5 separate regions of the Homo sapiens genome follow, and regions 2, 3, 4 and 5 are each linked to region 1. Evidence: promoter capture Hi-C in 16 types of primary human blood cells and fetal thymus (Javierre and others, 2016). All regions are on one chromosome and are shown on one strand. The core of a region is centred on a gene start or on the middle of the fragment in contact, and the rest is flanking DNA. Distances in the headings are between cores, read along the strand shown.

What was found. The method cuts DNA at HindIII sites, captures the fragments that hold promoters and counts their contacts. A CHiCAGO score of 5 or more calls a contact.
Region 2: a contact is called between a fragment that was not itself captured here and the fragment with the promoter of CIPC in region 1, in 2 of 17 cell types (naive B cells and total B cells). The highest score is 7.8, in naive B cells.
Region 3: a contact is called between a fragment that was not itself captured here and the fragment with the promoter of CIPC in region 1, in 10 of 17 cell types (naive CD4 T cells, naive CD8 T cells, fetal thymus and 7 more). The highest score is 9.1, in naive CD4 T cells.
Region 4: a contact is called between a fragment that was not itself captured here and the fragment with the promoter of CIPC in region 1, in 3 of 17 cell types (naive CD8 T cells, total CD8 T cells and naive CD4 T cells). The highest score is 6.5, in naive CD8 T cells.
Region 5: a fragment that was not itself captured here is called in contact with the fragment with the promoter of CIPC in region 1 in 11 of 17 cell types (activated CD4 T cells, total CD8 T cells, non-activated CD4 T cells and 8 more); the score reaches 10.1 in activated CD4 T cells.

Annotation. Positions count from the first base shown.
Region 1 is chr14:77,096,953-77,099,560 of GRCh38, reverse strand. It overlaps CIPC (CLOCK interacting pacemaker), which reads right to left and starts at 1,303. Exons shown (of 4, transcript NM_033426.3): 1 at 1,200-1,303. LOC124903350 (a long non-coding RNA gene) reads left to right here and starts at 1,543. Exons shown (of 2, transcript XR_007064275.1): 1 at 1,543-1,685. RefSeq lists enhancers at 533-692, 832-1,661, 2,023-2,072 and a silencer at 1,693-1,842. The HindIII fragment of the contact is 10,027 bases long and covers 1-2,608 here.
Region 2 is chr14:77,548,325-77,550,932 of GRCh38, reverse strand. All of the region lies in intron 9 of SPTLC2 (serine palmitoyltransferase long chain base subunit 2), which reads left to right. Among named protein-coding and RNA genes, the nearest start is that of ISM2, 51 kb to the right of the region's middle. The HindIII fragment of the contact is 172 bases long and covers 1,222-1,393 here.
Region 3 is chr14:76,714,540-76,717,147 of GRCh38, reverse strand. All of the region lies in intron 1 of LOC105370577 (a long non-coding RNA gene), which reads left to right. Among named protein-coding and RNA genes, the nearest start is that of VASH1, 46 kb to the left of the region's middle. The HindIII fragment of the contact is 792 bases long and covers 901-1,692 here.
Region 4 is chr14:76,785,407-76,788,014 of GRCh38, reverse strand. It overlaps ANGEL1 (angel homolog 1), which reads left to right. Exons shown (of 10, transcript NM_015305.4): 10 at 1-2,006. VASH1-AS1 (VASH1 antisense RNA 1) reads left to right here and starts at 1,291. Exons shown (of 2, transcript NR_104184.1): 1 at 1,291-1,930. The HindIII fragment of the contact is 1,773 bases long and covers 399-2,171 here.
Region 5 is chr14:76,829,331-76,831,938 of GRCh38, reverse strand. It overlaps LRRC74A (leucine rich repeat containing 74A), which reads right to left. Exons shown (of 14, transcript NM_001385106.1): 3 at 564-736. Among named protein-coding and RNA genes, the nearest start is that of LRRC74A, 4.2 kb to the right of the region's middle. The HindIII fragment of the contact is 154 bases long and covers 1,205-1,358 here.

The DNA.
Region 1 (2,608 bases), core at 54-2,553:
AAAGAAAACCTTGAGTAATCCCCGTTAGAATTATAAATACATTACTAGCTTTTCTCCGAAGTCATTTTCTTTTGGCCTGCATATTCAGGGATACCATTCTGGGAGAATGTCTGGGTATCTTAACAGTGGAAAAACCCTGTCTACCTAAATGTCTAATATTCATCTTCCCTTCCACATTCATTCCATTTCTCCAACTTGGCTGAAAATTCGTGTCAAAGATCCTGAACCCCAATTCCATACAATTTCCTATGTTTTAGACCAGTTTGGCTCTATTTTCACCTTTCAAAGGGGAGATGAGCTTAGAGAACTTTCTCCGATCCCCTGCTGCAATTAGTTCACAGTAACAGTGCCCACCTACCCATTCGCACCAGCCCACGTTGCATCTGTGCCAGGCAGCATGTGCACCCTCCAGGCATCCACCAGCCTGCCAGCTCAGCAGGGCAAAACTGGGCAGACCCTAGTACTGTGCTGTGACTGGCATACCACCAGCCTTCCAGGGCAAACGCCCAGGCAATGCATACTGCCAGGACTTGAGCAATAACAGGGAGCCTAGCTCCAGCCTGTGACCTGGGCCGGGATCAGAGCTCCCCCGAACCCACCCACTAACCACTTAACTCCTTACTTGGCACTGCCCACCTTCTCCCCAGAAACACTACCCCCGACACCAAGCCTGGCAAGCTGGCCACTCAGGGGAAACAACCAGCAACGAGGGTGACGGCAGGTCTCTGGAAAAGGCAGCACACCTGTGCCCTGGAGCCAGAACAGGGTACCACCCCCGACCTCAAACCGGAAGCCCAGGACCCTCGCCCAGTTACTAGTTCTGGCGCCCACTCACCTGCCCATTGCTTGGCCCTCAGCTCCCAGCCGGGCTGGACTCCAAGCTCTCTCCCCGCCCAGCCGGCTGGCGGTTGCGCCCAGGGCTAGACCAGGGCCCACCTGCCCCTCACACAAGCCTCCTCCCCACACGCAGCCCCCTCCTCACCCGCGATTCCCTCTCCCACGCCCCTCACAGCAAACCAAAGCCCTGCTCCCACCATTTGGCTCTCCGTCCTCCGAAAGTCCCGGTTTGCCCCTCTTGCCTACTCGCTCCTCTTCCTCTCTCCCCTACTTCCACCTCCTTTCCCCACGCTCCTCGCCCAATCCCTCTCCCGCCGTCATCCCTGCTCCCCTCCTCCCGGACCGAGCCCTCCCTTTCTCACCTAGGGCCGGGGTCGCAGCTCCACGACCGGCCTGTGGGTCAGGTGGCGCATGCGCGAGCACGGCCCCGCGGCACCATGACAACCTCGTCGTCGCTGGGTGTCTCGCTATCCCCACAGCCTCCCGCCCATTTCTCCTCCCCACGCCTCCGCGACGGCTTTCGCCAGCCACGTGACCCGACTCGGATGACCCGGCACCATGGAGACCGCACGCTGTTCTCCTAGAAGGGCCCTTGGAAATGCGCCCTTTCCCCGCCCCCGCCGGAAGACCAGGCCGGCGCGGGGCGGGGCCAGCGCTCAGAGGCCTACGCTCTGTCCGCGGCCGGCGGGCGTCTCTATGGTTGGTTCCTCAGGCCTCGCCGCCATTTTGTACGGGGGCCTTGAGCAATGAGCGGCTTGGGCAAGGTTTCCAGGCGGGGTTCAGAGGAGCCGGGGGTGGGGCCGGCTTGGAGTCGATACAGAGAGAGGAGCGACTCTCGCACTGTCTTGGTGCGTGCCGCCGTGCCGCCGTGCCGCCGTTGGGGGTGGGGGCCGGGGCGAGTCGTGTCCGGCCTGTGCGCGTGCCGGGAGCGACAGTGCCCGGCGTGGGAGAGCGGGCGTGCGGGCGGCCTCAGCCTGGAGTCGCCGTGACAGGGGTGCCAGACCTCCCCGCGTGCTCCTCGCATTTTCTCTACGCCTGTCGCCCTGTTTGTTTTTTGTTCCCGTCCACCCTCGAGACCGTGCTTCACGAGGTCGAGGCGCGATGAGTTATTTTAAGTAGATGATTTCATGACCTTTGATGTTTGACTGACTTTGTCATGTGCTATGGGTTTTATATGGATGCTGTTTCTTGGTGAAGGTTCACGGTGAACACACGTGTGTAACAGCTAAAGAAAAAAAGGGCTTGGGATCAGTTGACGTTCTGATGCCTTGAATCAGTGAAGGTTACTTAGAAAAAGAATTATTTCGCTAGTGAAAAAGAGGACATGGGCGAGTTTAAAGAGTTGACGGGTCGAGGCAGATTCAAGAGCTGAGCTGTCCAGTAAGATGGTCACTAACGACTGGATAAGTTTCTCAGTTGTACTAGCCACATTTCAGGAGCTCAGTGACCTCTTTATTGGACAGTGCAGATTATATATAGCCCATTCCCAGCATCGCAGAAAGTTATATTGGACAGTGCTGATTTAGATAGTGGGGAATTGTTTTATACTGGTCATCCAGGCCTTTGTAAGTGCTGCTAGGTCGTGGTTAATCACGTTAGTCCTCTAGACACAGGTAATTCTAATGTATTACTGGGTATGGGTGTACTTGTTAGTAGTCAGCTTTACCAACAAGTAATATGCCTACACCATGTAAGGCTTTTGTTTTGGGGACAGAGTGAAAGCAATAGTTAACAATTACCAAGTAATTAGGAGCCGGGCCGCTTTATATGC
Region 2 (2,608 bases), core at 58-2,557, 450 kb before region 1:
CTTTTTTTTTTTTTCTGGTTTTTGTTTTTGAGACAGAGTCTTGCTCTGTCTCCCGGGCTGGAGTGTAGTGGTGCGATCTCAGCTCACAGCAACCTCCGCTTCCCAGGTTCACATGATTCTCCTGTTTCAGCCTCCCAAGTAGCTGGGACCACAGGAGTCTGCCACCACACCTGGCCATTTTTTTTGTATTTTTTGTAGAGATGGGGTTTCACCATGTTGCCCAGGTTGGTCTTGAACCCCTGGGCTCAAGCAGTCTGCCTGCCTTGGCCTTCCAACGTGCTGGAATTACAGCTGTGAGCCACCACACCCAGCTGACTGTTTTCTTTTCTTTTCTTTTCCTTTCCTTTTCTTTCTTTTGAGATGGAGTTTTGCTCTTGTTGCTCAGGCTGGAGTGCAATGGCATGATCTTGGCTCACCACAATCTCTGCCTCCCAGGTTCAAGCGATTCTCCTGCCTCAGCCTTCCCGAGTAGCTGGGATTACAGGCATGCGCCACCACACCCGGCTAATTTTGTATGTTTAGTAGAGACCGGGTTTCTCCGTGTTGGTCAGGCTGGTCTCGAACTCCCGACCTCAGGTGACCTGCCTGCCTTGACTTCCCAAAATGCTGGGATTACAGGCGTAAGCCACCGCGCCCAGTCGACTGTTTTCTTAAATCAGAATTTTACCTTAACATTTTTTCTGATCTGTGCTAGATCCTTGTTATCTCTAATGAGAGATTTTTGGAAATAGTGAAATGTGATCATTTTCAGTTTTGTGAATTAATTCCTTGAAGAAGTTGTTTTATTAATGTTGCAAACACATAGTGGAGCCTGTGAATAGCTCCCTGTTAATAACAGCTATATCTCCTCTCCTTCTGATGTGGTGTTAGTGGAAACTGTGTGTGAATCTGAGAGACAGACATATATACACACATATATATACATACAGCTAGCATTTCTCTAGGTACTTCACATAGGCACACTTACCTTACTGATTCAGCACACAGGTTTAGGTGACTAAGAAATGGCTAAGAGCTATCAAAGTTAACATTGGATAATTTATTTGCCCTGTTCCAGAACATGGATCTGTGTGACACATTACCCCCAGATAAATGACTTATCTGTACTAAATGATGAAATCTGGGCTGTGCTAGTAGTGAGAAAATGAAACATGGTAATTATATATAGGCTTTGGATCAGCACAAGTTTTCTAGTTTTTGCCTCTAGCCACCCCCAAAGCTTAGTGATGTGACACAACAGCCATCTGATTATGCTCACAGATGCCACAGGTCAAGAATTCGGTCAGGGCACAGCAGGGATGACTTGTCTTTGCTCTGTTGTCTGGGGCTGGCCTGGAAGACTCAAGTGTCTGGAAAGACTGAGATGGTTGGTGGTTGGGATCATCTGGAAGCTTTTCCACTCACATGTCACCTGGGCTGGAGTGACTTGGAGCCAGGCTCAGCTGAGGCTGTTGACCAGAGCACCTTCATGCATGTATCTTTTCAATGTGGCTTAGGCTCCTCATGACATCGTGACTGTGTACCCAGAAAGGATGCTTCAGAGAGCAAGCATTCCAAAGAACCTGGCGGAAACCCCATGACCTTTTCTGACCTGTTGTTAACAAGCAGGTCACTAAGGCCATCCCGGATTGAAGGGGTGGGGAACTAGATTCCACCTCCCCAGTGGAGGCATGTCAAAGAATTTGTGGCTGGTTTTTTTTTTTTTGAGATGCAGTCTCAAGGAGAAGTACCATGCTTTTTTAAACAACCAGATCTTGGGAGAACTCAGAGCGAGAACTCACTCATTACCCAAGGATGGCAGCAAGCCATTCACGAGGATCCTCCCCATGATCCACACACCTCCCACCAGGCCCTACCTCCGTCATTGGGGATCACATTCCATCCTGAGATGGACAAACATCCAAACCATGTCAGTGAATATATTACATTTATCATTAAAACTTTGTTATTGTTGGATTCCAGAGTACATTAAGTACCTGGTATTGAAAGTAAGGCTTAAACATGTATATGTGGTTGCTTATTGTTAAATGTTTTCATCTTTTTGTGTGAAGAAATGTTGCTCTTTGGTGAGAGTACAGAGCCTTCAGAAAAGCTGCAGCATGTAAGGGAAGGTGAGATCCAGTTTCCACACGACTTTGTGAGCGCTCCTTTCCCCTTCCTCCCAACTTTTTCCGCATTTCCCCTCCAGTTTCTATCCTTTTCCCAAGGAAGAACAGGACATATGACTAGGTTGACAGATCTTGAAAGGCAACTTCACTAGGATCTCAGGTGAGATAATAATGAATGGGAATTGTGCTGCCAGGATGCCTGTACCTGGAGTGGGAATACTGAGCACAGGCCAGGGAGTAGAAAAAATGAGGCCTAGGAAATTCTGTTAAATTCCACTAGACATTTGAAATTCTAACTTTTACTTTACACATCACTAATCCGTGTCCACTAATGGAAATTTAGCTGTAGTATCTACATACGAATCAAGGCAAAGTGTTTGACCAAATCAACTAAAATTTTGCTTTTCCATTTTCCAGAGCTGTGCTTTGATGTATTTTATTTCTGTCCAAAGGTGTAGTTAATAATAACATGCATAGCACCCAGCTTAGTGTGTGACATC
Region 3 (2,608 bases), core at 47-2,546, 380 kb after region 1:
TCTTGAGTTGGGGTAACTGCTCCCCGACTTGCCCTTTTATGCCTAAGGGAGCCTAGCTCCTAGTATCCCATGTGGCTCTTTCTCTCATTTCTTATTCCCAATGAGCATGTGTTGCTTTCCTAAAGGCATTTCCATAACATTATACTTTTAAAGTCAACTGTGTGTGAGTATAAATGCTATTGGACATCAGGGGAGAACTCGGAAAAAAAAAATGTTCATTTTTATTGATAAACTTTTTAACTAAGGCAATTTTCAAAGAAAGCTAAAATCATGACATTCCTACAAACATAAAATGGACATGTTAAAATTGTATTTAGTGCATCATTAATGAAGGCTGGTAAGATGTGACAACCGGTTCAAATGAGAAGTCAAAAGAGGCACAAATTTATATGGAGAAAAGCAATGTTGAAGTGTATTTACGAATAGAAGGAAATATATTTACGAATAGAAGGAAACATATTTCAAATAGAAGGAAACTGGCTTTCCTTTGGAAAATAGGAAGTAAATTGAACCACCTCGGGACAGAATGTATTTGCATGCCTGCAAACAGGAATTATTTACATTGCTATCAGTTATCTACAATTTACAGATTTGAAAAATAGCTCAAAGGCAATGAATGGCCCAGAGACCCTAAAGCATCGCACTCAGATAACCTGGAAGGGTATGCTCTAAAGGATACACAGTTTCCCAATGAAGCACACATTTTTTCCTACGTGACATTTATTAAGCAGTTAATACTTGCAGGCAGTGATCCAATCCATGGGGACTGATAGTCTGCTTGGAGATTTAAGACACAAAAGAGCTGAGCCGTCTCCCTCCAGCAGTCTGATTAGTGGAGTGTTTATTATACTTCCTCTCAGTGACATAAAGATACTCCAAATTGAGTTCCATCATCAAGCTTTCCTCTTGAGAAAAACAAAAGTTTCCACTGCTTTCAAAAGTTTGAAAGCCACCAACCCATGTCCAGCAGGTTCATTTTATAGAAGAGAAAATGAAGGCTCAGAGAGGAAATGTGGTCTGCCCTGGGGCGCGCAGCTTGTTAACTCATGTCTGGTCGGAAGATGGGCTTTCAGGGCCGAGAAGGTGCTCCTTTTTGGCATTATTAGGTGACAGAAAGAGCTCCTGGAAGGGAGGATTTAGGAAGCAGGCTGTGACAGATGGTTTTCATCTCCTGTGCTCTGGGAAATCGCTACCACCCTCTAATTGGATGTTGGGAGCTTCAAGCAAACTGGCAATCTACATTGTATCATTGTTCCGTATCCCTAATTATCCCTTGGGATTTGGCTTAAGTGCAGCTTAGAGGATGTTCATTAATAGTGTCGACAGGGACACTCAGCATTTGTAAAATTCTTTACAATAATTGAAGACCTAGCATTGTTCTGGTGTGGTAAGGAAGCATGTTTGCTCCCAGCCGAAAGATGACTTAAGCTAAGAGGGTGGAGACTGGCTGACTTGGGAGTTGTTTTTCTAACGTCCAGGTCTGAACTCACAGTTCTACAATCCTTGTTTTCACCGGCTCAAGGAAGCTCCTTGATGAATTACATGAGTTCAGCTTACTAATGGGCTTACTTCACCAGAGTCAGAGTGATCTGTCCTTGGCATTTCATAACCCACTTCAGTTTCCTATCTCTTGGCCACCGTATTGTCAAAAACCTCATATTCCTGTGGCCATGACCAGTTCCAAAAGAAGCTTTGTCTCCACAGACAGATCGTGGTTCCATCTGGGCCTACCACCAAAAGCCTTGTGATTCCAGATGGAAAAATCCCCACACCCCCCCCCGTTTCCAAAGCAGCCCCCCATCTCGATTGTTTTATCTACAGTCAGCAGCACGAATCCTCCACAATCAGAGTCTCTCCGGGGGTGGAAAGAGTGGCTAATGGGGGATACAGCTCATCTTCAAACCCTGTGCCATGTGAATGGAAAAAAAAAATGCACACATCTGGCTGGGTTAGATAAAGAGGAGGGCTGGGGCAAAGAAGCCGGGAGTGGTGGTGGGGGCTTCCCTCTATCAAAGAAAACATTAAGAAAAAGGCTGCTTTTATTGCAGAGGAAAATTAAAACTTTACATTGTGACTGGAGCTGTTCAACCATCTACATTTGGCTGGGCACGATGGCTCACGCCTGTAATCCCAGCACTTTGGGAGGTCGAGGCGGACGGATCACCTGAGGTCAGGAGTTTGAGACCAACCTGGCCAACATGGTGCAACCCCATCTCTACTAAAAGTCCAAAAATTAGCTGGTCATGGTGGCAGGCGCCTGTAATCCCAGCTACTCAGGAGGCTGAGGCAGGAGAATCGCTTGAACCCGGGAAGTGGAGGTTGCAGTAGCCAAGATCGTGCCATTGCACTCCAGCCTGGGCAACAAGAGCGAGACTGTCTCAAAAAAAAAAAAAAAAAAATCTACATTTTTGTTGTTGTTGTTTTCAAAAGATATCCTTGAGGAACCCCAAGTATTTGGCTGGAATCCTTTGGTGACAGCCAGTTTCCTTCCAGGAGGTTGGAACAGAGCTGCATGTGTGTACATGTGTTTGGGGGGATACAAGGAATTGAGTGGTTTTCTTTCAATCATAGCCTCACCCTCCTGCCATTTGAGGAAGACGGAGGGAGA
Region 4 (2,608 bases), core at 36-2,535, 310 kb after region 1:
AGAATTTGAAGTGGCAGTACTTGCGGATTGGCTCTGTCCAGCAAGGCCTCAGCTGCTTGTTGCGTCTGCTTTCCCTCCCCTAACAGAAGGGTACCCTGGCTTATTCAGGGGACTCCTTAGTCCACACTGTGTCACCTGCATGCCTTAATCTTTCATTGCTGGGGTGTGGCCTTGGGAGATCCTGGGCCAGCCCCTCCACACATCTCCCTAAGTCAGAGTGGCTGCTGGCCCTGGTAGATTTGACTTGCTCTTGCCTCACTCGACCTCCAAAGTGGGACTGAAGACAGTGGTCAAGAGACTTGAGTTCGGGACAGTAAGCCAGGGGTTAAGGTTCTTTCCTTTTTTTGAAAGCCAAAGACCCAGTTTGCATTGTGCTGCTGCATTCATGGTTAGAAGCTTTCCATGCCTAGGTTCTAGGGAATTTATTTTTCTATGTGTATATATTTTCAAACTTTGTTTCCTGGGTACTGGGCATGTGCCTGTCTGAGCCCCAGGTCTGTCTACACCCCACCATTCATTCTGTCTGTCTGTTCCCTGGACACTGCCTAAAAGGGTCTCAAGACAGTGCCCTGTGGGTTCCTAGGACTAGGGCCCATCACTGTTCTCTTCTGCTGGGAAATGCAGCTTTAAAATGGCTAACCACAGCAGAGGGCAGATGCTTGATAGATTATCTTTTCCTTGCTTTCTTGTTTCTGTTTTGAAAGTGAAATGGGGTTTTAAATTGTTATTTAAACTCTTTTTCCAAATAAAGGTTTACCTTTTTTCCCCCCAATGTTGTTCATTTTATTAGGATCCTGAAGGGATTAGGTCCTTGAGAGAGGGCCTGAAGAATGAGGTGGGCAGAGGAAGAGACTAAGGAGCTTTTGATCTTGGGGTGGGGTCTCAAGACATGAATCTAGATTGAGAAATGTGTTGTAAGATCTCCCTCTATTAGCTGAGGTAAATTCCCACTGCTGTGAGGCCTGGGAGGAACAGGGCTTGAGTGAAGCCTCCTGCCTTGACACTGCTGGGGTACAGCTTTCTTCTGTCCTTCCCAAGTGAGAGAATGATTCTTTGGACTGCTTTTCATTCTTCCTCCATCTGCTCCCCCCATGCCTCCTCCTAGTATCTTCTGCACTTCAGGAGGGTCTGTGCAAAGTGGGATAAGATGTGTGTTTTCCTGATTAAAGCTATGGCAGCTGCATGAGACATGATGCGGGTGGCACATGCCTCTTGCTGAGCATCTATTTCTGATCTCTTTTGCATTCTGGAGCCAGGGCTGAGCAGTGGGCCATCTGTCGCTGGAAAAATGTCTCTTCCTTCCTAGGCCTACCTCTGTTGGTGCTTTTGTCTTCCAACCTCCCTATGTAGTAAGACCAGCCAAGCCCACATGCCCACTGGGAGCCCTGAAACCAGATCTGGTTTTCTGTCTTACCTGAACAGGTTCCCAGAACCCACACCAGGCCTCTGAATCAGTCTCTGAGAATCTGATTGATTTAAAGCCACTTGGTTGCTTCCATTGCACTACCTGGGTTGCGATCCCCTCAATTGATTTAGTAAAAAGAAAACTTAGCGGCCGGGTGCGGTGGCTCACACCTGTAATCCCAGCACTTTGGGAGGCTGAGGCGGGTGGATCACCTGAGGTCGAGAGTTCCAGACCAGCCTGACCAACATGAAGAAATCCCGTCTCTACTAAAAATACAAAATTAGCCGGGCGTGATGGCGCATGCCTGTAATCCCAGCTACTTGGAGGCTGAGGCAGGAGAATTGCTTGAACCTGGGAAGCGGAGGTTGTGGTGAGCCGAGATCATGCCATTGCACTCCAGCCTGGACAACAAGAGTGAAACTCCATCTCAAAAAAAAAAAAAGAAAAGAAAAGAAAAGAAAGAAAACTCAGCTAGGAATTAGAAACATCATTTGTCCTCTTGGCCTGTTCAGCTGGTGACTGTAGGTAAGTTACTTAACCTCTCTGTATTTCAGTTCACATTCCTTGGTGAAATAGAAATTAAAGTTAATAATCACTTCTACTTGTGAAGAATTTTCAGATCTGAAATTGCTTTGTTTGGGCTTTGGCAAGAAAAAGGTGCTAAGAATTCCAGAGAATTATTGGTAGGAGTTGGGAGTAGATCGTTACCCCAGCCAGGCTGGACAGTTGGGCCCATTGGCTAGGAAGTATTTGAAAGCCCTAAGCTTTGAGGTATATCCCCAAGAACCTCTTCCTGGCAGGGAGGGTTCCTCCTAGTTGCCTCAGTCAGTTAGCATCTCCACAGCACTTCTGTTAAGTTTGCACAGTACTTCCACGTCAGCTAGCAAAGACAGTGGCACTGTGTGGTGGCAGTTTAGGTGGTGTTCAGATTCTACCTTTACACCTGAGGAAACAGAAATCCCAGAGATAGAATTTGAGAATCTCCTTTGGTTTATTTCTTACCACCCCAAGTTTCTCACAAGCCTTTCCAGGATCAGGCAAGACAGGTTATCTTGGAAGGCAGAGGCTGGTGGTGGGGGCCTGGGGCTGGGGGAGCTCAGAGGCAGCTTTTAACTGGAGACCAAGAAGGGAAATGGCCAGTCAGGAGGCTGCTGCTTTTTTTGTTTTGTTTTTCTCTCCAGTTCCTGCCCTGTTGTAGCTACT
Region 5 (2,608 bases), core at 32-2,531, 270 kb after region 1:
TCAGTTATAATTATATAAAGTCATGATGAACTCAAGGTCAAGTCCTTGTTTGGTCATACCAAGCTGAGAGATAACACTATTTCTGTGGGAAAACTTGATTTACTCTACACCGTGGTCTTTATGAAATATAATGTTGCACAAGGCAGACATTGAATGGAATGGGTCAGTAGTAAACCCATTTACAGCAAAAGTGAGCTTTGGAATGAAGACCCAGGCTGGCATTTTGTTGGTGCTCTTACATTGATAATTGGGCCTGGTCACTTTTCCTGGGCCCAGGGGCTGGTGCCTTTGCTTCCTGAACAGCAAAGAGTATATAGACTTCTATTTTTTTCTCCTCAAAGTCTCTGCAAGGAGCATAGACTTCCAAGGCCCAGGTTGCTAGTAGCCTCCTACCAGGAGCTAAATAAATCATCTGGCAGCCAAGCAGAGCCCAGGGCAGTGTGGCATAAGGGCATAAAGTGTGGGTTTAGGCTCCATAGGAGGGGCCCTCTGAATCTTGGGCCTACCACTCTGCCAACCCTCCACCTCCTCCAGGTTTCATGAGCTCCCACTAGCATGCTCACCACCAGGGCTATAGCAATAGCCTTGGTACCCCTGGGGCCCAGGCCGTGGTGGTTGAGGTTCACGTAGGACTCCTCCATGTTCCGAATGAAGTAGGAGACAGGCACTACACCCATCAGCTTGCAGGCCTCCAGGTACAGCTCCTTTTGTCCAGTGGTGAAAAATTTCTCATCATCTGCAGAGAAAGATGGGCTGAAGTAGGATTTCTCTTCCACCTTTGCCTTCTCTCCCCTCTAGCCCCAGTGACATTCACTCATGTCTAGACTGTCCTCTGCCAGAGGATCTCTCCCTGTGGGTATGTGCTAAGAAGCCTGCTCCTGTCTGGGAAGTCAGTCCATGGTGGGAGAGGGAGACTCTAACTCCAGAAAGTCCCAGATGAATGTTTCCCTTTGGGTAGGAGATGAGGCCCATGGTTTTAGGCCAGAAGCTTTCCTAGAAGTGAGCAGTGGGCTTCACCCCACCTGCCCAGGTTGGCCACATCCAGTGACTGGTCATCAAGGACATAGAAGGCCCAAGCCCTCTTGCCCACCTTTGGACAATTCTGAAAGGCCAAACGCGGATGACTTTTGATGGTTGATGGAATCTTCATTTCACTTTTAGTTTCACCGCCACTATCACAAGGTTGTGAGTCATGAAAAAAGCTTCACCAAAGACTTAGAGAGGCACCAACATTTAAAAAGCCCAACTAGGACAGAGTGGACTTCTCAAAATGGCAAACCAGTGAATATGGAAAGACCTCCACATCAGCGAGAAACAAGCATGCTTGCATGTGAATGGTCTTTCTTCTTTCAAAAGCTTGCATGTCATTTTCCTTATAAAAAGGACTGTCATCCTTGCTTTATTGACGACAAACCTAGCCTCAAATAACACACAGTTGGTCAATGCTAAAACCAGCTAACAGAAGTGGGGACTGCACCTTTCCATTCTAACCCCTGGGGGCCTTTATTTCTTAGGCTTTAGGCCAGCCTGGCCCATGGTCACTGGGCATCGGGCCTCCCTGGATTCTGGGTGCCCCACAGCTGTGTCCTCATTAGGCAAGTCCAGCCTATGGCAGGGCTTCCTGAGGCCAGCTGGCGTCTATGTCTGCATCTGTTTTTCCTTCAGATCCCAGGGCCTTTGGCCAACCCCCTCCCCCTCCAAACAATCTAAGGCTGACAATGGGAGCTTTGTTGGTGAAAGGACAAGTGCTTTACAGGGAAGCTGATTTTGCAAGCACAACTACAAATTAGACTTCTCTTTGGGACGCTTGTACAGCAGCGCTTCTCAGCCTCAGCACTGCAGGTATTTTGGGCTGGATAATTCTGTTCTGAGGGCTGTCCTATACATAGTAGGGTGTTTAGTAGGATCTCTGGCGTGGACCCACAAGATGCCAGTAGCAACCCCCCTCCCCTAGTTTGCCCAATGTCCCCTTGGTGCAAAATTGCTTCCAGGTGAGAACCACTGTTGTGGAGAAAAACAGCTCATGGCAAGTGAGCAAACCAGGCTCGTCTCCCCCTTTTCTCTAGACTCACAGCCAGCACTGCTCCCAGCTGGCCCATTTCCCATGCCCTCCCTGCCCATTCCCAGTGTCTCAGCACCCACAGCAGGAGCACCAGGAGCCAGGGCTGCTGAGCCCCGAGTTACCATTCAGGACAGAGTTTTTGGTGCCACATTCAGCCATTAGAGGTTCCTGTTGGCAAAAGCAGGGAAGGTAACCCCCAGGTTTTGTCCCTGGGACTAATTCTGCTGGGTTTGATGCTGACCCTTTCTAGCTGTGTTCCCTATTGTTATATTTTATGGGCAGCTTGCGACAGTGTTAGCACTTGCTGCAGTCAGGGGAAGAGATGGGGGAATGAGATAGAAACAGGACCCTTTGGCCAAACATCCAGTGTTGTCCTTTGCTACCTTCTCCAACCATGTGAATGAAGTTGGGTGTTAGAAGCAACGTTAACAACAGACTTGAAGTGGACAAGAAGCCAGAAAAAGAGCAACAAGCTGCCTGGGGGTCAGCGGGGAGGAGGTCTGCGTAGAAGGGTGAAGATGTATGTTGTATGTTGACCATGGTGGG